Linked DNA regions of Homo sapiens: all the other regions are linked to region 1. Evidence: promoter capture Hi-C in 16 types of primary human blood cells and fetal thymus (Javierre and others, 2016). All regions are on one chromosome and are shown on one strand. Each heading gives the region's core, a stretch centred on a gene start or on the middle of the fragment in contact. The rest is flanking DNA. Distances are from core to core; before and after follow the strand shown.

Region 1 (5,371 bases), core at 944-3,443:
TCGTAGCACTTTGGGAGGCCGAGGCAGGCTGATCACCTGAGGTCGGGAGTTCAAGACCAGCCTGACCAACATGGAGAAACTCTGTTTCTACTAAAATTACAAAATTAGCTGGGTGTGGTGGTACATGCCTGTAATCCCAACTACTCAGGAGGCTGAGGCAGGAGAATCGCTTAAACCCGGGAATCGGAGGTTGCGGTGAGCCAAGATCATGCCATTTGGGCGGCAAGAGCGAAACTCCATCTCAAAAAAAAAAAAAAAAAATCCACAACTGGCTGGGCACGGTGGCTCATGCCTGTAATTCTTGTTTCGGAGGATGCCTGTTTGGGAGGATCGCTTGGGCCCACAAGTTTGAGACCAGCCTGGGCAACATAGTGAGACCCCGCCTTTACAAAAAATTTAAAAATTAGCCAGGTACAGTGGCATGCACCTGTGGTCCCAGCTATTGAGGACACTGAAGTGGGAGGGTCACCTGAGCCCAGGAGGTTGAGGCTGCAGTGAGCCATGATTGTACCACTACACTCCAGCTTGGGTGACAGTGAGACCCTGTGTCAAAAAAAAAAAAAAATCCAAAATCTCACCCAGACCAATACTGTATCAGAATTATCATTTTAACAATATCTCCAGATGATTTATATGCACATTAAAGTTTGAGAAGCTGGCCAGGTGTGGTGGCTCACACCAGCACTTTGGGAGGCCGAGGCAGATAGGTTACTTGAGCTCAGGAATTCGAGACCAGCCTGGGCAACATGGTGAAACCTTGTCTCTATAAAAAATCCAAAAATTAGCCCGGTGTGGTGGTGGGCACCTGTGGTCCCAGCTACTCAGGAGGCTGAGGTGGGAGGATGGCCTGAACCCAGGAGGCAGAGTTTGCATTGAGCTGAGATTACACCACTGCATTCCAGCCTAGGCAGCAGAGCAAAACCCTATCTCAGAAAATAAATAGTTTGAGAAGCAATCTTTTTTTAAATGAGTGAAGAAATCAGACCTAAGGAGAAATCTGATGAAGCCAGAGCTGAGTTAATATTGATAAATGGATGCAGTCAGGTGGTCTATACTTAATTTTTGGTGAGGGGAAGGGACAGTGGAGGCAGTATTGATTTTGAGGAAGCCAAACAGGACAGCCTGATGAATTCAAGATTTCCAGCATATATACATCTTCACCAATCCCACCACCTTGCTCCAGCCTGTCATATCACTGTGTCTACATAAAAAAAAAAAACAAAAAAAAAACTCCAAGGCCAAACTCTCTGACCTTTCTTTCCTTCTAAAGACCAAGCCCTCCTCACTAGCCCCCTGCCCCTCCTTAGTTAACTGGCAAAGAGATCAAAGGGCAGGCCTTCTGACTGGTGATGCCTCAGCTGTAGCCCCCAAACTTGACTCATCCTTTTATTAGTCCAGGTACCACTTCTTCAGAAAGATGACCAGCCCTCACTGACCTTCCCCTTCCTGCTGTGCTCCAGGCCATCAAGGCATGTGTCACCCAGGCTGGAGTGCAGTGGTGCAATCTCCGCTCACTGCAACCTCCGCCTCCTGGGTTCAACCTATCCTTCCACCTCAGCTTCCCGAGTAGCTGGGTCTACAGGCGCATGCTGCCGCACCCGGCTAATTTTTGTATTTTTAGTAGAGTCTAGGTTTCACCATGTTGCCCAGGCTGGTCTCAGACTCCTGGGCTCAAGCTATCCACCCGCCTTAGCCTCCCAAAGTGCTGGGATTACAGGCCGTGAGCCACCGCACCCGGCCTTGTACTGTTACTGTTTATGGGAGGCAGTACACAGCTGGGCTTAAGGGCACAGTCCTGGAATCAGATGCAGTCAGATTTGAATCCCAGCTTCCCTTCCTGCAAGATGTGTGACTTTGGCTAATCATAGTGCTTTACTATCCAAAAGTTGGCAAGGAATGGGTGAACTAATACAGGATAAAAACGCTTGCCCTACTTCACCTGCCCCCAGCTCCCGGCTATAAACAGTAAATAGCTGAGCTGCTGCAGCACTCAGGCAGGTTGGCCAGCGCTGGGCCAGCAGGAACTGGAAGCTGGTGTGGGGCCTGGGACTTTGGACGCATTTCCAGCTTTCTCTGAACCGGGCTGGCTTCCTAGCAGATAGGGCGGGACCGTCGGGTTGAGTGACGGCCGGTGGCCCGCCCTGGGCGTGACGTTGTTCTAGTGTTGTTGCCAGCAGCTGCACGTGGTCGGCTGAGTCCGCCTCAGACTCAGAGCTGCGCTCCTCGACCTCAACGCCAGGCGGTTACTTTGCTGCTCCTCCCGCTCGCTATGTCAACGTCCACTAGCTGCCCGATTCCCGGGGGCCGGGACCAGCTGCCCGACTGCTACAGCACCACGCCGGGGGGCACGCTATACGCCACTACCCCCGGAGGTCAGCGGGCCGGGCAGGGGTCCGCAGGCTGCGGACATATTAGCGCGTGCGTGTTGTTGCGGGGCGGGGGTAGGGGAGGGACAGACCTAAGACTTGTCCGCAGGCCCCTCTACAGGTTGTAGCTTTGGGGGAGAATGTTTGGAGCGGAAGCTCAGTTCCCAAAAACTTCTAAGTGATGCAACAAGGCCATGAGCCTAGCTTCCGGGTGTTTGGGCTGTAATCCTTCACTGTGGCCTGGGTTCTTGGAGCCTTACACACGCTCCTTACCCCTCGCGACTTTGCTTCCTAGGAATAGGGGCCAGGGCCCCCTACTGAGCGTGACCTCAGCCGGAAGCACCGGGTCTTGAGAAGTGGAGTAGTTAGAACAGTTGGGGCAGTTGCTCCGTTTTTGTGCTGCTGGCTGGCGTCTGTTTGGTTGGGCGAGCAGCCTGGGATCACGAGCTGCTGGGCTCCCGACCCAGGGATTCCTGCCACGCGGAAGCGGAGGGGAGGAACAGGGCAGGACCCTTTGAGGACATTATGCGGGCCAAGTTCCTCTGAGCTAGTGTGAACCTTATAGGACCTGGGAGGGGTCAGGATTAGAACAGTACGTTTCTCCTCCCTGCAGGAGATAGCCCAGGTAACAGCACTGGGTGGAACCCTTCACAACTGCTATTTCACTTCTTGAACCACCTGAGGCTGTTAGTCTAGGTCTCACCTTCACTGGTGAGACCAAAGCAGAGGTTTCAGAGTGGTAGAGGAGCAGCATGAAGTACCTGAACTCAAAGTTTGGTGTTCCTCTTAGAGCCAAGATCTGAAGCTCTCCCAAACATAAAGCCCCTGCCTATACCAGCTGGGATGCCCCCCTTGCTTTATACCCACATCTTGGTTAGGTCTGGAAGATTTTAAGCACTATGAAGGCTTGTCTGCTGAGAACCTAGCTGGGCTTCAGAGCCGATGTCCTTTGATACACAGGGAAATTTGACACCACCCTCACCTCCAGGCCCCAAAAGGCCTGAGTCTGGGACCCCAGTCACCTCGGTACCCAAGCTCCTGACTCTTACCTCAGTCCCAACCCCTTGACAGGCACCAGGATCATCTACGACCGAAAGTTCCTGCTGGAGTGCAAGAACTCACCCATTGCCCGGACACCCCCCTGCTGCCTCCCTCAGATTCCCGGGGTCACAACTCCTCCAACAGCCCCTCTCTCCAAGCTGGAGGAGCTGAAGGAGCAGGAGACAGAGGAAGAGATACCCGGTAAGGAAAGCAGGAATTAAGAATTGTCCCAGCCTTTGAGTTCAAATGCCACTGTGACACAGTGCGGGGGTTCAGTTCCAAGAGGGGTTTCTGCACTGATGCTGAGCCTGCAGATCCTCAGACCAGCAACCTGTCTTCCTGCCTTTTCTCTCTCCAGATGACGCACAATTTGAAATGGACATCTAATCCAGTGCAGATGACCTGGCATGTGGAGTTACAGAGGGATCCCTCATGCCACTGCTGCCACCACCTCTTCCTGGGGCATCCAAAGGCCAGCTGGCCTCATCTAATCTGGAAGGGAGTGACTTGTTAGTTCCAGGCCTCCTTTAGTTCTGAGGCAGCTAGACCAGGGATAGGAGTGGGCAACTTGCCAAGCCCTTAACTCTACTTCCTCTTCAGTCTGTGGTACTCCTCCTAACCCTAAACCCTCTATGCTCAGGGGCTGGAACTGGGGAATGGAGTAAGTCACCTTCTGACTGCTTAGTAAACATTCAAAGAAATGCCTTGGCTCCAGTGTTCTCCTCAATGCTGATTTTCTCATCTCAGCCACACAGCTGAAGGCCCTGGCAGGCCTGGTTAAGCTCAGAGGCCTCAGATCATTCCCAGCTCCCACCAGGCCCACTTCCAGCAGCAATTAGAACCTGAGGCACGCTACAGTGGCAGGTTACATGAGCCTCCAAACCATAAACAGCAATAGCTTGGCCACTGCCAAGGGCTGTTCCTGTCTTCCCAGGAAGCAGCCTTCCTGGAACCAGGGCCCCCCAGCAGCCCCTCCCCTATCCATTCCAAAGCAGGACTCTTGGAAAAGAGGTGCTGTCCCAGCCTATAGCCATCCTGTCTCTCCCTGTGCCTTTTCTGCTTCCCACCTCTAAGCACCAGTTCCTCTATTCCAACACCAAAAACCTTGTACCCTTCTCACAGCATGATAGTCCACCAAGTACCTCTCTCAAAGGGTTACAAGAGACCTTAGAGTTCACACTGAAACCCAAAATGAGGCAGCAGTTTGTTTGGCAAGTCAGAGTTACAATCCCCAATCTCAGTAATCTGGTCTTTTTCTCCTTCGATTTACACAGAAAACCCCACTCAATGTGGTTCTAATCTCTGTAACAGTAGTATCTCAAGGGTGATACAGTGCAAATAGGACTGTCTTTCCTTTTGTTGAGGGAAAAGTCTCCCCGTTCTATTTGAGTCTGTTCTCATGCTGAAATGAAACCATCCAAACACAGCTGCTCCGCCCAGCACAGGATGTGCTTTCAGTCTACTTTGGGAAAAAGTGGTAGGCAGTAGTCTGACTTTACCCAGCAGATCCCTTCCTGATGAATGGAGAAGGGAGAACAGAGGTTTGCAGATACACAGGGAGCAGGGCAGTCGAGGACACCAGAGGGGACTAGCTTGGCACCGGAAGGGTTCATCTCTCCTACCCAAGGCCCACCGCAGAGATGTTTTTATTGAAATGCATGTTATGAGTAACACATGAACTCCCTCTGGCCCAGGTGGGACTTCTTCCCTCATAGGTGGGTCAGGCCCAGTGGGACAGTCTTGGTGGTGGTAAGAAGGGAGCCAAGTGACAGAAGGTCTCCAAGGCATAGGAGATGGTGTCCGGTGAGTCTGGGGAACCGAGGATTATGAAGCCTGCTGGAAGCCTGGTATGGTATGGTTCTTCTCAGCTGTGGCTGCAGATTTCTCTTCATTGGCTGCCTCCTCTGAAAACAGACTCCTCTTTTCTGCAATTAATCTTTTAACTCCTACCATCCACTGACTGA
Region 2 (5,371 bases), core at 2,872-5,371, 150 kb before region 1:
TGGTAGTGCATGCCTGTAATCCCAGCTACTTGAGAAGCTGAGGCACAAGAATCACTTGAACCTGGGAGGCAGAGGTTGCAGTGAGCTGAGACCGTGCCACTGCACTCCAGCCTGGGTGATAAAGTGAGACTCCGTCTAGCCAGGTGGGGGTAAGAATTCACCGGGTGTGGTGGCTCACGCCTGTAATCCCAGCACTTTGGGAAGCCAAGGCAGGTGGATTACTTGAGGTCGCGAGTTCAAGACCAGCCTGGCCAATATGGTGAAACTCCGTCTCTACTACACACACACACACACACACACACACACACACACACACACACACACACACAATTAGCCAGGTGTGGTGGTGCATGCCTGTAATCCCAGCTACTCTGGAGGCTGAGGCAGGAGAATCGCTTGAACCTGGGAATCGGAGGTTGCAGTGAGCCGAGATTGTGCCACTACACTCCAGCCTGGGCATCGCAGCAAGACTTTGTCTCAAAAACAACAACAAAATTGTGGTAATATACCCGTGTATGTGTGTGTATGTCAAAGTATAAGTGAAATATTTCTTCCCTAAGTTCACATTTCTCTGAGTTAAATGTAACTCCCTAGATTTTGCCCAAAAAAGTACATTCTAACTTTTTTAAATTTTATTTTTCTTCTTAATTTGTTGGATAAACACACTAATAATAACAATAAAGATTTTCAAAAACAAAAAAAATCTACTAACTCTCTAAAGTTTGGTTTTAAGGTAATAACTGGGGTGGTTTTGGAAAATAGTTTTGTTACCAAGGTGTTACATACTCATTGTAAACAAATTCAAACAATATATGCACAAATAAAATGATATACTTCTAGTAAAAAACTGAAATAATTTCACTTTTTCCCTCACTTGGCAGTGTACCATGCACAATCAGCCTTCTGATTTTCTTCTTTTTTTTTTTTTTTTGAGATAGAGTCTTGCTCTGTCGTCAGGCTGGAGTGCAGTGGCGTGATTTTGGCTCATTGCATCCTCCGCCTCCTGGGTTCAGGCTATTCCCCTGCCTCAGCCTTCCAAGTAGTTGGGACTACAGGCGCGAGCCACCACGGCCAGCTAATTTTTTGTGTTTTAGTAGAGACAGGGTTTCACCATGTTGGTCAGGATGGTCTCAATCTCCTGACCTCGTGATCTGCCCACCTCAGCCTCTCAAAGTGCTGGGGTTACAGGCGTGAGCCACTGTGCCTGGCCTCTTCATTCTTTTTAACAAGTATATTGTAGGTCATGTTATAACTGTACCGCAGCTTACTTAGCCACTTATTGATAGACAAGTAAGGTTTGTCTGTTTTGAGACAGAGTCTCACTCTTTTGTCCAAGCTGGAGTGCAGTGGCATGATCTTGCACACTGCAACCTCCGTTTCCCAGCTTCAAGTGATTCTCGTGCCTCAGTCTCCTGAGAAGCTGGGACTACAGGTGTGCACCAACCCCCTGGCTAATGTTTTTTCTTTTTTTTTGAGACAGTCTCGCTCTGTCACCGAGGTTGGAGTGCAGCGGTGTGATCTCAGCTCACTGCAACCTTTGCTCCAAGGTTCAAGCGATTCTCCTGCCTCAGCCTCCCGAGTAGCTGGGATTACAGGCATCTGCCACCATGCCTGGCTAATTTTTGTATTTTTTAGTAGAGACGAAGTTTCGCCATGTTGGTCAGGCTGGTCTCAAACTCCTGACCTCAAGTGATCCACCCATCTTGGCCTCCCAAAGTGCTGGGATTACAGGTGTGAGCCACCCTGTCTGGCTTTTTTTTTTTTTTTTTTAAGTAGAGATAGGGTTTCACCATGTGGCCAGGCTGGTCTTGAACTCCTGACCTCAAATGATCCGTCTGCCTCAGTCTCCCAAAGTGCTGGGATTATAGGAGTGAGCCACCGTGCCTAGCCCTGACAAGTAAGGTTTTAATTAATGTCCCTGTACACATTTTTTTTTTTTTTTTTTAGTTAATGTGTGAGGGTTTCTGTGCCACTTTTCCTCCAGAGTTGGAAATGGATTTGCTAAATCAAAGGGTAGTTGCACTTAAAAAAAAAAAAAAAAAAAAAAAAGAAGGACCGGGCACATGGCTCACGCCTGTAAACCCAGCACTTTGGGAGGCTGAGGTGGGTGGATCACTTGAGGTCAGAATTTCCAGGCCAGACTGGCAAACATGGTGAAACCCCATCTCTACTAAAAATACAAAAATTAGCCGAGTGTGGTGGCATATGTCTGTAATCCCAGCTACTTGGGAGGCTGAGGCAGAAGAATTGCTTGAACCCAGAAGACGGAGGTTGCAGTGAGTTGAGATCACACCACTGTACTCCAGCCTGGGCGACAGAGACTCTGTTTCAAAAAAATAAAATGAAGGCACCTCCAAACTTATTTCCCTAAAGATTGTATCAATTACACTACTGCTAATGGTATACAGAGAGTGCAACAGGGAACTTGTGAGAGTAATTGTTGGGCATGAGGATTACCAGGCTCTGAATAGTGGTCAACCAGTGCTTTGAAGGGTTTTTAAATATTTCTGAGCCCTTCAGTCACTCTCCAGGAATTCTAATATTCATTTGAAATCCCTGGTATACAGAAAAGTATTGCTGTTTTCTTTGGACTCTCTAGTATGGCTCAATCTTGATTTAAAATGTTGCCAGCTTATGGGTGGAGCCATTGGGACAGTTTAGGGCTTTAACCAAACTCCAGAGGCCACAACAGGCCTGCCCATATGTCCTGCATAACTCTGAATGGTGATGCAATTCTTTTCAACTGACGAACCTTTTGCATTGACTAAATCTCTGCTGGAGAAGTCCAACTTTGGCTGTTTTTCTTTTCTTTTTTTTTCCCTTGACATCAGAGGTGTAAATGCCAGGGTCTAAGAAGGGCTTCTAGGTGAAAAGCTTCAGAGTAGAGTCCTGACCACTATATTTCTTAATAGCTTCTGTGAGCTTATATCAGACTCATGTCTGGCCTAGACTTTCTACAAGTGTCCTTTCGGGGCCATAGCCACTTCCTTGGGAAAGAACACTTGGTAGGTGGCACTGTTACCTGCCCTGCAGGTGAATGCCATGCTGTGTCTCCTGATTTATGGGACTGTCTTGATGAAAAAGGGGTGTGGCAAACTGAGTTGAGTTCAAACACTCCACAAGAGTCTCCAAGATCAGCCTTCAGAGTGACTCAGTCCTCACTTATAAGCCCAAATTGCTCTTTGAGTTGGAGTCCTTGGTCTGCTCCTTTCTCATTGTGGTAAGCAATTATGTACTTCAGGTTCTCACAGGAAATATCAGAGGGTAATGGATGGGTCATGTAAAATCACTTCAGAGATTTTATTGGGAGATACTGATCCTAATGCTCACTCCTTGTTACTCCTCTATTTAAAAAAAATTGTAAGGCTGGGCATGGTGGCTCACACCTGTAATCCCAGCACTTTGGGAGGCCGAGGCGGGCGGATCACCTGAGGTCAGGAGTTCAAGACCAGCCTGGCCAACATGGTGAAACCCCATCTCTACTAAAAATACAAAATTAGCTGGGCATGGTGACACACGCCTGTAATCCCAGCTACTTGGGAGGCTGAGGCAGGAGAATCGCTTGAACTTGGGAGGTGGAGGTTGCAGTGAGTTGAGATCATCCCATTGGACTCCAGCCTGGGCAAGAAGAGCGAAACTCCATCTCAAAAAAAAAAAAAGGCGGGGCGGGGGGATTGTGAAAAACTAAAACACCCCTCAAGGGTTCTTCTGACTCAAAAGTGCTGATTCACTAAATGCCAGGCCACCATAACCTGTAAAATAAGAGGATTCTTGCTGCTGCGGTTGCTATCTAGCTGTTCTCTCATCAGAAAAAGTGCTCAGACCATAAGATTCAAAATTTTCACCAATTCTGGGATGTTCTAAAGTCTGTGGCAGAAGGACATGGTACCAGCCAAGGAGAGCTTCTACAAAAGGTGGGTGTGGCTGCCTAAGTTGCAGTGGTAAGAGGACATGTGAAAAAGGATGTTTGGGGTCACTAGCTTCAGGTTTACCAAGTGTGGGATAGAAGAAGCAGAGGGTTCACTGTAATGCACAAGGTAGAGTTCTGGATTTCTCCCAGTAACTTATTGATTGTCAGTTCTTAGAACCCTCTTCTTGTCAAAGAGCTTGTATAACTGTAGACCAGAACATCTGGGCTGAACTACACACTTACTGGTACTTATTTCTCAATGTGACTCTTGGTTTTTCCTTTTTTTTTAGATGGAGTCTCACTCTGCCACTCAGGCTGGAGTGCACTGGTGCAATCTCGGCTCACTGCAACCTCTGCCTCCCAGGTTCAAGCGATTCTTCTGCCTCAGCCTCTTGAATAGCTGGGACTATGGGCACCTGCCATCACGCCCGGCTAATTTTTGTATTTTTAGTAGAGACGGGGTTTCTCCATGTTGGCCAGGCTGGTCTTGAACTCCTGACCTTGTGATCCGCCTGTCTCAGCCTCCCAAAGTGTTGGGATTATGGGTGTAAGCCACTGTGCTGGACGGCTTTTCCTTTTAATTAGTACTGAAGTGAGAAAGCTCATAGAATTACTGCTGGGACTCATATTTTCAGTACAATCCTTCCAATGGAAGCAATACACAAAAATATTCACCAAGGACTCACCTGGGGGAAGAGTGGATTAATCTTCATTGTCAACCAATATGACCTTTCTGCAGAGAGATGTTTAACTTTTGCAAAAAGCAAAGCTACAACTTGATGTCTTTTAAAAATTTGGGCCAGGTGTGGTGGCTCACATCTATAATCCCAGCACTTTGGGAGACTGAGGCAGGTGGATCGCTTGAGCCCAGGAGTTTGAGAGCAGCCTGGGTAACATGGCAAAAACCCTGTCTCTACCAAAATACAAAAAAACACAACAAAACAAAACAAAACAAGCTGGGCATGGTGGTGTGCACCTGTAGTTCCAGCTACTTGGAAGGTTGAGGTGGGAGGGTGGCTTGAGCCTGGGAGGTTGAGGCTGTAGTGAGACTGCACCACTGCACTACTCCAACCTAGGTAACAGGAGCAAGACCCTGTCAAAAAAAAAAAAAGTTTTCAGTTACAGAGTTACAGTAAATCTAACTGTGTTTCTGTCCAGTTGAAGGTTTGGAGGTTTCTGGCTGACTCAGCAAGTAATGTTCTACCTAGGTGAAGTTCTTCTCATTGCTGTCTGAAACCAAACACATAAAGTAAATCCATCATGTTTAGCTTTGTTGTTGTTTTGGGTTTTTTTTGTTTGTTTTGTTTTTTTTTGAGATGGAGTCTCGCTCTGTCACCCAGGCTGCAGTGCAGTGGTGTGATCTCGGCTCACTGCAGTCTCTTGCCTCCCAGGTTCAAGCGATTCTCCTGCCTCAGCCTCCCAAGTAGCTGGGATTATAGCACCCACCACCATGCCTGGCTA
Region 3 (5,371 bases), core at 1,942-4,441, 140 kb before region 1:
CAGCTGAGGTCAGGAGTTAGAGACCAGCCTGGCCAACATGGCAAAATTCTGTCTCTATTAAAACAAAAAATTAGCCGGGCTTGGTGGAGGGCGCCTGTAATCTGAGTTACTCAGGAGGCTGAGGGAGGAGAATCGCTTGAACCCAGGAGGCAGAGGTTGCAGTGAGCCGAGATCACGCCACTGCCCTCCAGGCAGGGTGACAGAGAGAGACTCTGTCTCAAAAAAAAAAAAAAATAAATTATTTTAGAAACAAGTACCTAGACATCCAAAAAGATGATGAATTGGTGTGTAGTTTGGGAGTGAAGTTTGTCTTGTTGCTCTAATGGGGCAGGATTAGGTGAGAAATAAGAAATGTGGAGCCCTAGTATTTTTGCTCTAGAATTAGTTGGTCTTCTACATTTTGTGTACAGAGGAGTAGACCCTCTAAGGACCTCTTTATATTTAATATCAGAGCCAAGAGCTGAGAAAAAACAAGCTACTCTTTCTTGCTGGCCAAGCAAAAGACCTTTTGGTTAGAGGAATGGACTCACATCTTTCAGTACATTTTTTTTTTTTTTTTGAGATGGAGTCTTGTCGCCCAGGCTGGCACGATCTTAGCTCACTGCAACCTCTGCTTCCTGCATTCAAGTGATTCTCCTGCCTCAGTAGTGAGATTACAAGTGCGTGCCACCATGCCTGGCTAATTTTTCTATCTTTAGCAGAAATGGGGGTTTCACCATATTGGCCAGGCTGGTCTCGAACTCCTGACCTCAGGTGATCTGCTCGCCTAGGTCTCCCAAAGTGCTGGGATTACAGCCGTGAGTCACCCACCTGGCCCTTTTGTTATTTTAAACATTGGGGTAAATACCTGCTTCGTATTTCTTCAGGCATTCTTAGCATGTTTCTTAGCTATCGAAGCCCTTGATTAGAAGAGCTAGCACTGCATTGAATCCTATTAAGAAATGTATCCATGTTCAGAATAGAAGTTAGGTTAAAAATTTCTTAAAAACCACTTTAGGCCTGGTGCGGTGGCTAACGCCTGTAATCCCAGCACTTTGGGAGGCCGAGGTGGGTGGGTCACAAGATCAGGAGTTTGAGACCAGCCAGACCAACATGGTGAAACCCCATCTCTACTAAAAAACAAAAATTAGGTGGGCGTGGTGGCACGCACCTGCAATCTCAGCCTACTCAGGAGGCTGAGGCAGGAGAATTGCTTGAACCTGGGAGGCAGAAGTCGCAGTGAGCTGAGATCGCGTCACTGCACTCCAGCCTGGGTGACAGAGTGAGACTCCATCTCCAAAAAAAAAAAAAAAACCACTTTAAAAAATGGTTTTTATTTTAAATTTTTATTTATTTATTTTGAGATTAGGATTACAGGTGTGAGCCACCACACCCAGCCTATTTTTATTTATTTATTTATTTTTAGAGATGGGCTTTTGCTCTGTCACCCAGGCTGGAATGCAGTGGCATGATCATAGTTCACTGCAACCTCGAATTCCTGGGCTCAAGCAATCCTACTGCCTCAGCCTCCCAAAGAGCTAGGTCTAACTAGAGGTGTACTCCACCACTCCACCTGATTTAAAAAAAAAAAAATGTTGCCCAGGCTAGTCTTGAACTCCTGGCCTCAAGGGATCCTTCTGCCTGGGCCTCCAAAAATGCAGAGATTACAAGTTGTAAGCCACTGTGCCTGACCGAAAAACCAATTTTTAAATTTTAATTTTAGAATTGTGGTCTTTTAATTTTTTTAGCAAATCGAAATAAAAATACAGTTTCTAAAGAAAAGATTGTGTGAGACATGGTTTTCAATTTTTGTCGTAAGAATGAATGTGTGTGTATATGTGTGTTTGTGTGTGTATGTGTGTGTGTGACGGCCCTCTTTTAAAATTATTACAAAAGTGGCCGGGCGCGGTGGCTCACGCCTGTAATCCCACCACTTTGGGAGGCCAAAGCGGATGGATCATCTGAGGTCAGGAGTTTGAGACCAGCCTGGCCAACATGGTGAAAGCCTGTCTCTACTAAAAATACAAAAATTAGCTGGGTATGGTGGCAGGCGCCTGTAATCCTAGCCACTTGGGAGGCTGAGGCAGGAGAATCTCTTGAACCCGGGAGACGGAGGCTGCAGTCAGCCAAGATCATACCAGTGCACTCCAGTCTGGGTAACAGAGCAAGACTCCATCTCAAAAAATTAGAAAATAATAAAATTATTACAAAATAGTTACTTGTTGAAAAACTCAACAATATAGATAGTAGGTATAAGGGGAAAAGTAAAAGTGCTTCTTCCCACCCCCATTAATTCTTCAAATTCTACCCTTCAAGGTAACCAATATTAAAATTTTTCATTCAGTAAATTTTCTAGGCCTATCTTTCTATGTATATATGTATATATGTTCATATACACATACTTTAAAGGCATATCAAATTTAAAAGTGTAGCTTTATATCACACTGAGGTTTTTTTCTTGAAGCAGGTGCTGTATTTACAATTATATAAAAGCACGCAGAAATTGTATTTAGCTCTGAAAATATAGCACAAGCTTTGTAGGGATTCCTTTTTCCCTGAAAATTACTTTTAACATCAAAAGCAAAAGTCATACAGAAATCCCATCCTGATTTTCTCCAGTAGGTAAGGAGTTGGGTCATATCCTTTAAGATTGTTTATGATCTATATATAATCTGTTTTTTAATTTTTAATTAAATTTTTTTTACCGTTATGTGTTTTGAGAGATGGGGGTCTCGCTTTTTTGCCCAGGCTGGCTGTTGCCCTGGCTACACAGTGCGGTGGCATGGTCATAACTCTATGTGGTCTCCCACTCCTGGGCTCAAGCAATCCTTCTGCTTCAGCCTCCCAAGTAGTCAGGACTACAGGGGACTATAGGTGTGCACCACAATACTTGGCTAGTATGATCTATAATCTAGAGCAGTTTCTCAAGAGCAACATATAGACATTTTGGGACAGAGAATTCTTTGTTGTGAGGGGCTCTCCTGTGCATTAGAAGCATCCCTGGCCTCTACCCACTAGATGCCAGTAGAACCCGATTATGATAGCCAAAAATTGTTCAGACGTTGCCAAATGTCTCCTAGGGACAAAATCACTCCTGGTTGAGAGCTACCGGTCTAGAGGCCACTCTTGTCAGGAATGGTAGTTTTGTTATACTCTGTATTCAAACTTAAGGTAAACAAGGTGAGTCACTGCTTTTAATAGCATTTCAGGACTTATGCTTATAACCTGAACAAGGGAGAAATAGAAGGTACTGAAAGGTTTAATATAAAACTAGCATGCACTGCTGTAAATTTTCTATGGTAAATGTATCATTTTGGGGAACTTTCACTTAAAATATATTATTTTTCAAAAAGTTCAGTTGTCCATGAAAATGAATTTTTAAAAAACTTTTATGGGGACTTCCAGTTTGTTCAAAGTAGAAATGCTTTATTCCATAAATTATCATTTGTAGTGATAACATAGGAAATATAACTTTGTATTCTAGTGGGCTAATTTTGGAGACTTTGGAAATGCTTATTGAATAAAAAGAATTATATGTTATTACTGTAACAATTTTTTTTTTTTTTTTTTGAGTCAGAGGAGCCTTGCTCTGTCACCCAGGCTGGAGTGCAGTGGCAGGATCTCGGCTCACTGCAGCCTCCACCTCCTGGGTTCAAGTGATTCTCCTGCCTCAGCCTCCTGAGTAGCTGGGACTACAGGCCCGTGCCACCACGCTCGGCTAATTTTTTGTATTTTTAGTAGAGACGGTGTTTCACTGTGTTACCCAGGATGGTCTCGGTCTCCTGACCTTGTGATCCACCCGCCTCAGCCTCCCAAAGTGCTGGGATTACAGGTGTGAGCCACCGCGCCCAGCCACAATTTTTTGTATGTTGCACAAATATCAACCTTTCACAAGCTTCATGATGTAAAGCCTTAAGACTTTACATATAAAATGATGCATTGATAAGTATATTTATGTGAATGGTGGGGTTGATGCAGAGTTGATTAGTATGGGTGGAGGAAAACTTTTTGGGAAACTTTAAGTATGAGAGGTTTTTGTTGTTATTAGTATATTTTCAATAGATAATTACATTCATATAGTTCATAAGTCAAAGTAATATAAGGGCAGATACAGTGAAGTCTCAATCTCACCCTGCTCCCACATATCTTGCTCTTTATACTTTTAATAAAAGTATTATATAGCCTTTCAGAATTTCTTTATGAAAATACAACTATGTGTATTTTCCCTACTGTTACACAGATGGTAAGATGCTATTTATGTGAAATTTTTAAATGGTAAATTTGAGAAGGATTTAGACTTTTTTAAAAAATTAAAGTGATAAATTATGTTATGAATGAAGGATGGAGGTGAGTTTAAGCACATTCCTTTCTGAGTCTATTTGTTAGTAGAGTGCTGATTGACTAGATGAATTCAAAATCAGTTCTGGCCTTCTGATTCAGTGATCACTAATATAAATAAAATATGTTACTTTAAAGAAAAGCAAAACAGTTTTAAACAGTTTTAGCCTTGAATTGGCAAGTAAACAAAATAAATGACAAGTTTACCAAATTTTTTTTTTTGGCCAAATTTACTTTCTCAGAACTAAAGTTGTAATAAATAAAATCAATTCTTTTTTTAAACCCACTATAAAGGAACTGTTTCAATGTATCTGTCTTCACAGACCTTATTGATCACATTTCCCTCTCCTATTGCTTGTCTATAGAGTCATAGAATCTTGGTGATAATCCTATCTCATCTCATTTTTAGGTAACTGCTACCATTTATTGAATGCTTATTATATACCAGTACCGTACTAGATACTTTCGTTATTTTATTTAATCGTTTCATCACCCCTTTGAGGTAGGTATTATCTACATTTTTATAGATGAATAAGTGTAGGCTCAGAGAGTTTTTAGAGTAATGAATCTAAAAAACAAAAAAATGGTTAAAATGTTATATGGCTAGTGACTGGTAAAGGTGGGATTTGAATGTGATACTGAATTTAGAGCCCATACTGTTATTTTGCTTCAAATTAAGAAATATGTAGTTTTTGGTTACCAAATGCTGTTTTTTAAATAAATCATTGTTTAGTTCCTATTGAAGTTTTCACAGATGTAAAGTAAAATGGAGAAAATAAGCAGGATGTAGTGAATTTCTAATGAAGCTATTTTTTCCCACTTTTTTCTATTTTGACAAATACTCTTCCTACTTTTACAAAATGAATTTTTAAAACTATCTGTACTTAACAGAATATCAACTGGAAACTTCATTTGGGACCCTGGATAAAAGCCTCAGAAGTCTGGGAACTGTTGAGCTAAATGACTTGCCCAGATCACACAGTTAATATGTAGCAGTCAAGACTGAAAAATAGGCCATCTGATTCCCATTCTAGTTATCCTACCTTCCAGATTC
Region 4 (5,371 bases), core at 1,321-3,820, 130 kb after region 1:
AAGCTTTAGTCTTTCCTCTAGCAGCTTCTTCTGTGCAGATGCCACAAGCACCTGTGTCTCCGTGGTCCGTATCTTCTCCTCCAAAGCCTGGGGAAGGGGCAGATAAAAGAGAGCTGGGCTAACACCTTCAAGGAGCAAACAAAGCAGGCTCTAGTCGGGATTTTGAGACCAGGCCCAACTCAGCTCTACCAGGGCAGGGGCCCTGTCTTCTCATCTAGCACCTTGGGCATAAAGGTAGCTTTTAGTAGATATGAGGACTGAACTGACTGACTTGTACATAGGACGTATCAGAATAAATAACTTAGGGCAAGAGTAAAGGTAGCTTTTTTACAGTAACTTCAAGCTTATCTCCATGTAGTACCTTTTTTTTTTTTTTGAGACAGGGTCTCTGTCATCCAGGCTGAAGTGCCGTGGTGTGATCACTGCAGCTTCGACCTCCCAAGCTCAAGTGATCCTCCCACCTCAGCCTCCTGACTACAGGCACACACCACCATACTCAGCTAATTTAAAAAAAAAAAAAAATTTTTTTTTTTAATCTGTAGAGACAGGGTCTCATCATGTTGCCCAGGCTGGTCCATGTAGTACCTTAAGGGTCCACCAAAGCATTCACACAGAAGTACTACTATGAGCCCACCCCAATTAGATCACCCTTGACAGTTTTAGTCCCCACTTACTATCTACCCATTTATGACACTGTGCCTCTCACACTTCAGTTACAGGGCACAGGCGTGTATATGGGTGTGGGGAAAGGAGAATGCTGCTGCTGCTTCCCTTGTCTTTTTCAGGAAAACTATTTTCATAGTTCTTAGAATGTAAGATGCCTACTGGAAAAATGATCTCAACTGGGAAATGGGTGGTTTCCACCCTAGAGAAAAGGCATAGGACTGTGGGGAGGTTGCCAGAGCATTTCCCAGAAGATGAAATGCAACCAGCCACTTAAGACCAGCAGCAACAAAGGAGGGCTTGAGGCTACAAGAGGCTTCCTTGGTGTTACTCTAGGTGCTAGAGAGTCACGGTAGCCATCTGAGGGATCCCAGGGCCTCAGACACATGCTTCCCATTTAGAGACAGTATTGCAGTGTGGTTAGTGGCAAGACTTTGGAGTCAGACTGCCTGGATTCAAATTCTGACCCTACCACTTACAAGTTTCATGGCCTTAAGCAAATTATTTGATCTATAATGCTTCAGTGTTCTCATCTGGAAAATGCAATTAATAAAATTAGCTACTCTCACAGGGCTGTAGTAACAATTATATTTTGATAATGCATGAAAAGCACCAAGCACAGTGCCTGGCACAAGGCAGTAAAATGTTAAGTATTCCGTATCATGAGGAAGATCTAAGTCTTGGATACACCAGCCCAGGTTTGTGACAGCCCTGAAGGAAGTAGAGACCCAGAGCAGAGGATTGAGTGCAGAAAGATTATGGATTAAAGATCCATAAAACTTACATATAATGGGGTAGAAATCTGTGAAAAAGAGCAATAATCTTTTCTCCATTTCTGTGAGATGCTCCCTGCCCAAAGCAGCACCACTTGCTCCCTTGGAGATCAGATAGCTTAGGTGCCACCACCTGCTCAGACTATCTTCTACCTACCTCCTAGGACCTACCTCTAGTCTCTGTTCCACGATGGAGAAAATCCGCTCCACCCCAATGCTGAGCCCCACACATGGCACCTTGCGCCCTTTGGGGTCGAACATGCCCACTAGCCCATCATAGCGTCCTCCAGCAGCCACACTGCCCACACCCAGGGGCTCTTCCCCTGCCTGGGCTGGGGTCTGTAGCAGCACTGCCTCATAGATCACCCCAGTGTAGTAATCCAGCCCTCGAGCAAGGCTCAGGTCAAAGGAGATCTGTGGAGATAAGAAAATGGTCAGTGCCAGATTAAGATCAGGGACCTGAAGCCCCAGAGCTCAGAAGGGATCCCGTCCCCAACTTGACTCACTTTGTCATCAATGCCAAATAGGGTCAGGTACTCAAAGAGCAACTTCAGGTCTCCCAGGCCCTCCAAGGCCTGCTTGTTTTGGGATAGTTTAGGATCCTGGAGCAGCTGTTCCACCAGGGATACCCCACCTGGGGAGACAGACTTGTGAGTGAGGCTGACAAGGAAACAAAAAAGGTAAGGAGGGTTGACCTTCTTGCCTGGACTCTAGTCGCCCATGCATGTGTGTGTACATATGCATAGACACACTCACTCCCCTACATACATAACACAGAACAGTTTCAACTTTAGGACTGAGGGCAGTGGGACGGCTGCTGGGGAGGCTTGGTTCTGTTCCTCACCATGTTGCTGGACATAGTCCCCAATGCGGTCAGCCACCTCAGGTGCAAGGCCCTTCTCTCCCACCATCTCATTCTTCACCTCTTCCCAGGACACCTAGGCAGACAGACACCAGTCAGGGACCCCTGGGCAGCTTCCGCACCACAGAGCAAGTGTGTACTGTCCTCGGGGAACCGTTTTAGAGCAGTAGCTGCCCATGAGCCTACATCCTGGGGCTAACCTTCCTCTGGTGGGTATAGAGGCATGCACCTCTCTCTCTCTCAATCTTGTTTTCCATTTCCCAAGGCAGGGTGGGATCTGGGAAAAGAAGTCAAGTACTTGGGTTGTTACCTTGTCCAGCTTGTCTACTGAGGAGCAGATGGTACGGAACTTGCTGTCAGAAACACCACAGATAGCAAACATCCCATCTAGAATGCGTCGATCGTTTACCTGCAAGGAACCAATGCATAGTGAGGGGGGAATCTCTTTTCTTACATGACCTGCAATAGTCATGGTCACTTAGGCTACTGGTCCCTCTGCACAAGGATCTTCTCTTGTGAGAGGCCAGGCCCAACTTTGCCCTCCCAGCCTTGTCAGCTCTGACCTTGACCAGGAAGTCGCCTATCTGAAGTGAACTCAGGATCTCGCACATGATCTTCAGGCACTCTGCATCAGGGATCATGGGATCAAAGTTCCCAGCAATGTCAAAATCCTGCAGGGAGAGGGTTAGCCAGCGGTCTTCAGGGATTCACCTTTCTGAAGGGGGGACTCTGGGAGCTCTGTCCTCTAGGAAGGCCTGGTTGCACTCAAGCATAGAATTTCTCTTTCATTTTCTGATCATCAGCCCAGAGGTAAACCCCGGCATCTTTGGGCTTCTCACCAGTTTTGGTTTCCTTTCCATCTACTGGGCTATTCCTTCATTTTCTACTTCATCATCTTCTTAACTCCTCCTACTGGATGGGGTGATTATATGGCTTTAGTGCTTAGCCATTTTCCCTATTCATCCAGAAGCCCTGGCATCAGTCTGGATGATTTGATGTATCAAAGCTAATTTCCTTATTCTCTGCTGTGATCCTATCACTGTGGTTTAAAATAAAGAGCACTGGACCAAGAGTTCTAGTCCTGACTTTGCCTTTCTTATCCCTATGATCTCTTCATGGGCTGGGTATCAAGTTTACTCATATGTAAAATGAAGAGACTTTATTCTCCTCCCCCACCACAGGGATTTTGTGAAATCTGCATGAAAACACCATAGAAGAGGCTGGGTGCGGTGGCTCACGCCTGTAATCCCAGCACTTTGGGAGGCCGAGGCAGGCGGATCATGAGACCAGGAGTTCGAGACCAGCCTGGCCAACATGGTAAAACCCCGTCTCTACTAAAAATACAAAAAATTAGCCGGGCATAGTGGCAGGCGCCTGTAATCCCAGCTACTCAGGTGGCTGAGGCAGAAGAATCGTTTGAACCCAGGAGGCAGAGGTTGCAGTGAGCCAAGACTGCACCACTGCACTCCAGCTTGGGCAACAGAGCGAGACTCCGTCTCAAAAAAACAAAAAACAAACAAAAAAACCACCATAGAAACCCTAAGAGCATTATCTGGGTCATCCAATTTGCTCAGGACACCGTGAGTACTCAATAGATTCTGCTGGCTTGAGAGAGCCCCAAGTAACTCATCCTGCCCCACGGTTTCCCAACACTCACACACTGGTAGAATTCCCGGTATCGGCCACGGGTCATGGCTGGGTTATCCCGCCGATATACCTTTGCTATGTGGTAGCGTTTAATGTTGGTCAGTTTATTCATTGCCAAATACCGAGCAAAAGGAACCTGATGACAAAGAGTTAAGGAGAAAGCCCCTCCTATCACTGTCTGCAAGTTGATTATCATCACCAACAGAAGCTGGGGTCTAACCCCTCCCTATGTGGGTAAAACTGCCACCCATAAGATTAATAGCACTTACAAACATCAGAAAGCATCAGCTGTGCTACCACATGAGGTAGCTGAAGGCTCAAAAAAGATTAAGGCACCTTTCCCTTTTGTAGTGTTGACTGGACTTTTTTGAGCATGGCAAGGGGCTGGGCAGGTTGGCCACAGACCAGAAAAAGGCGACCAGAAAAAGGCCCCCATATGGGATTTCTAAGCAGATGATTCTCTGTGTAGCTTGGAGACAAGGGAAATGTGTTGCTAGTCCATTAAGAAGAATTTTGTTCACTGGACAGGGCAGGGGAGAGGTATTCTGGAGCCAGGGGATGACTGTAGAGTTGGAACTGGGCCCTGACATCAAGCTGAGGTCTCACTCAGGATTCAGAAGATTTCTAAGGATGTGTATGCTCTGTTTAGCCAAAGTTCCACTCCTGGTTTAGAGAAATAATTCCCCTAATCGCCAAAGGCCTCATATTTGATCCTACCTACTCTACCATTCTTAAACCTGAGCCAAGTGAGTGCCAATCCATCCAAAGTCTCAAGAGCCCAAGTTTAGAAAGATACAGTGAGGTCATAGCGAAGGGACAGGAGCTCCCCGCCCTGGTCCTTCAGGTCATAGATAAGCTTGGAGTCTTCCCCATACTTTCCCATCAGTGTTTCCTGGAGAAAACATAAATAAATGTGGTCATAATAATAAACATAACAATTTAAAAGGAAGTTTTGAAAACAAACATGACTGATTCCAACTTGTCTACATTTCCCTCTGCTCTTTATCCCAATTCTTAGGTGTCTGATGTAGTTATCATTAAAAGGAAACACCAATTTTGTGTTTTTTTCTATTTTGATTTTGTAACAGAGCTGAAGTATTTTTCTTACACATTTTCCTCTTAAAAATCTTTTTTTTCTTCAGACTTCTCAGCATGAAGTTTGTTTTTTTTTTTTGAAATGGAGTCTCGCTCTGTCACCAGGCTGGAGTGCAGTGGCGTGATCTCGGCTCACTGCAACCTCTGACTCCGGGGTTCAAGAGATTCTCCTGCCTCAGCCTCCAGAGTGGCTGCGACTACAGGCGGGTGCCACCATGCCCGGCTAAGTTTTGTATTTTTAGTAGAGACAGGGTTTCACCATGTTGGCCAGGATAGTCTCGATCTCTTGACCTCGTGATCTGCCCGCTTCAGCCTCCCAAAGTACTGGGAT

The links. The method cuts DNA at HindIII sites, captures the fragments that hold promoters and counts their contacts. A CHiCAGO score of 5 or more calls a contact.
Region 2: a contact is called between a fragment that was not itself captured here and the fragment with the promoter of EIF4EBP3 in region 1, in 1 of 17 cell types (endothelial precursors). The highest score is 5.7, in endothelial precursors.
Region 3: a contact is called between a fragment that was not itself captured here and the fragment with the promoter of EIF4EBP3 in region 1, in 1 of 17 cell types (naive CD4 T cells). The highest score is 5.1, in naive CD4 T cells.
Region 4: a contact is called between a fragment that was not itself captured here and the fragment with the promoter of EIF4EBP3 in region 1, in 16 of 17 cell types (total CD8 T cells, M2 macrophages, M1 macrophages and 13 more). The highest score is 9.0, in total CD8 T cells.

What each region holds. Positions count from the first base shown.
Region 1 is chr5:140,545,469-140,550,839 of GRCh38, forward strand. It overlaps EIF4EBP3 (eukaryotic translation initiation factor 4E binding protein 3), which reads left to right and starts at 2,194. Exons shown (of 3, transcript NM_003732.3): 1 at 2,194-2,372; 2 at 3,438-3,608; 3 at 3,766-4,108. The coding sequence starts at 2,270. The coding sequence ends at 3,794. ANKHD1-EIF4EBP3 (ANKHD1-EIF4EBP3 readthrough) reads left to right here. Exons shown (of 36, transcript NM_020690.6): 35 at 3,438-3,608; 36 at 3,766-4,108. The coding sequence ends at 3,769. It overlaps SRA1 (steroid receptor RNA activator 1), which reads right to left. Exons shown (of 5, transcript NM_001035235.4): 5 at 4,600-5,371. The coding sequence ends at 5,232. RefSeq lists enhancers at 1,141-1,849, 1,850-2,556, 2,317-2,406, 2,557-3,264. The HindIII fragment of the contact is 7,257 bases long and covers 1-5,371 here.
Region 2 is chr5:140,388,846-140,394,216 of GRCh38, forward strand. All of the region lies in intron 1 of ANKHD1-DT (ANKHD1 divergent transcript), which reads right to left. Among named protein-coding and RNA genes, the nearest start is that of ANKHD1-DT, 9.9 kb to the right of the region's middle. The HindIII fragment of the contact is 2,499 bases long and covers 2,873-5,371 here.
Region 3 is chr5:140,406,019-140,411,389 of GRCh38, forward strand. All of the region lies in intron 1 of ANKHD1-EIF4EBP3 (ANKHD1-EIF4EBP3 readthrough), which reads left to right. All of the region lies in intron 1 of ANKHD1 (ankyrin repeat and KH domain containing 1), which reads left to right. Among named protein-coding and RNA genes, the nearest start is that of ANKHD1-EIF4EBP3, 6.9 kb to the left of the region's middle. RefSeq lists an enhancer at 623-1,123. The HindIII fragment of the contact is 1,362 bases long and covers 2,511-3,872 here.
Region 4 is chr5:140,675,047-140,680,417 of GRCh38, forward strand. It overlaps HARS1 (histidyl-tRNA synthetase 1), which reads right to left. Exons shown (of 13, transcript NM_002109.6): 4 at 4,742-4,837; 5 at 3,956-4,081; 6 at 2,862-2,969; 7 at 2,609-2,707; 8 at 2,281-2,374; 9 at 1,943-2,070; 10 at 1,608-1,850; 11 at 1-87. Among named protein-coding and RNA genes, the nearest start is that of DND1, 4.2 kb to the left of the region's middle. RefSeq lists an enhancer at 3,009-3,258. The HindIII fragment of the contact is 4,458 bases long and covers 342-4,799 here.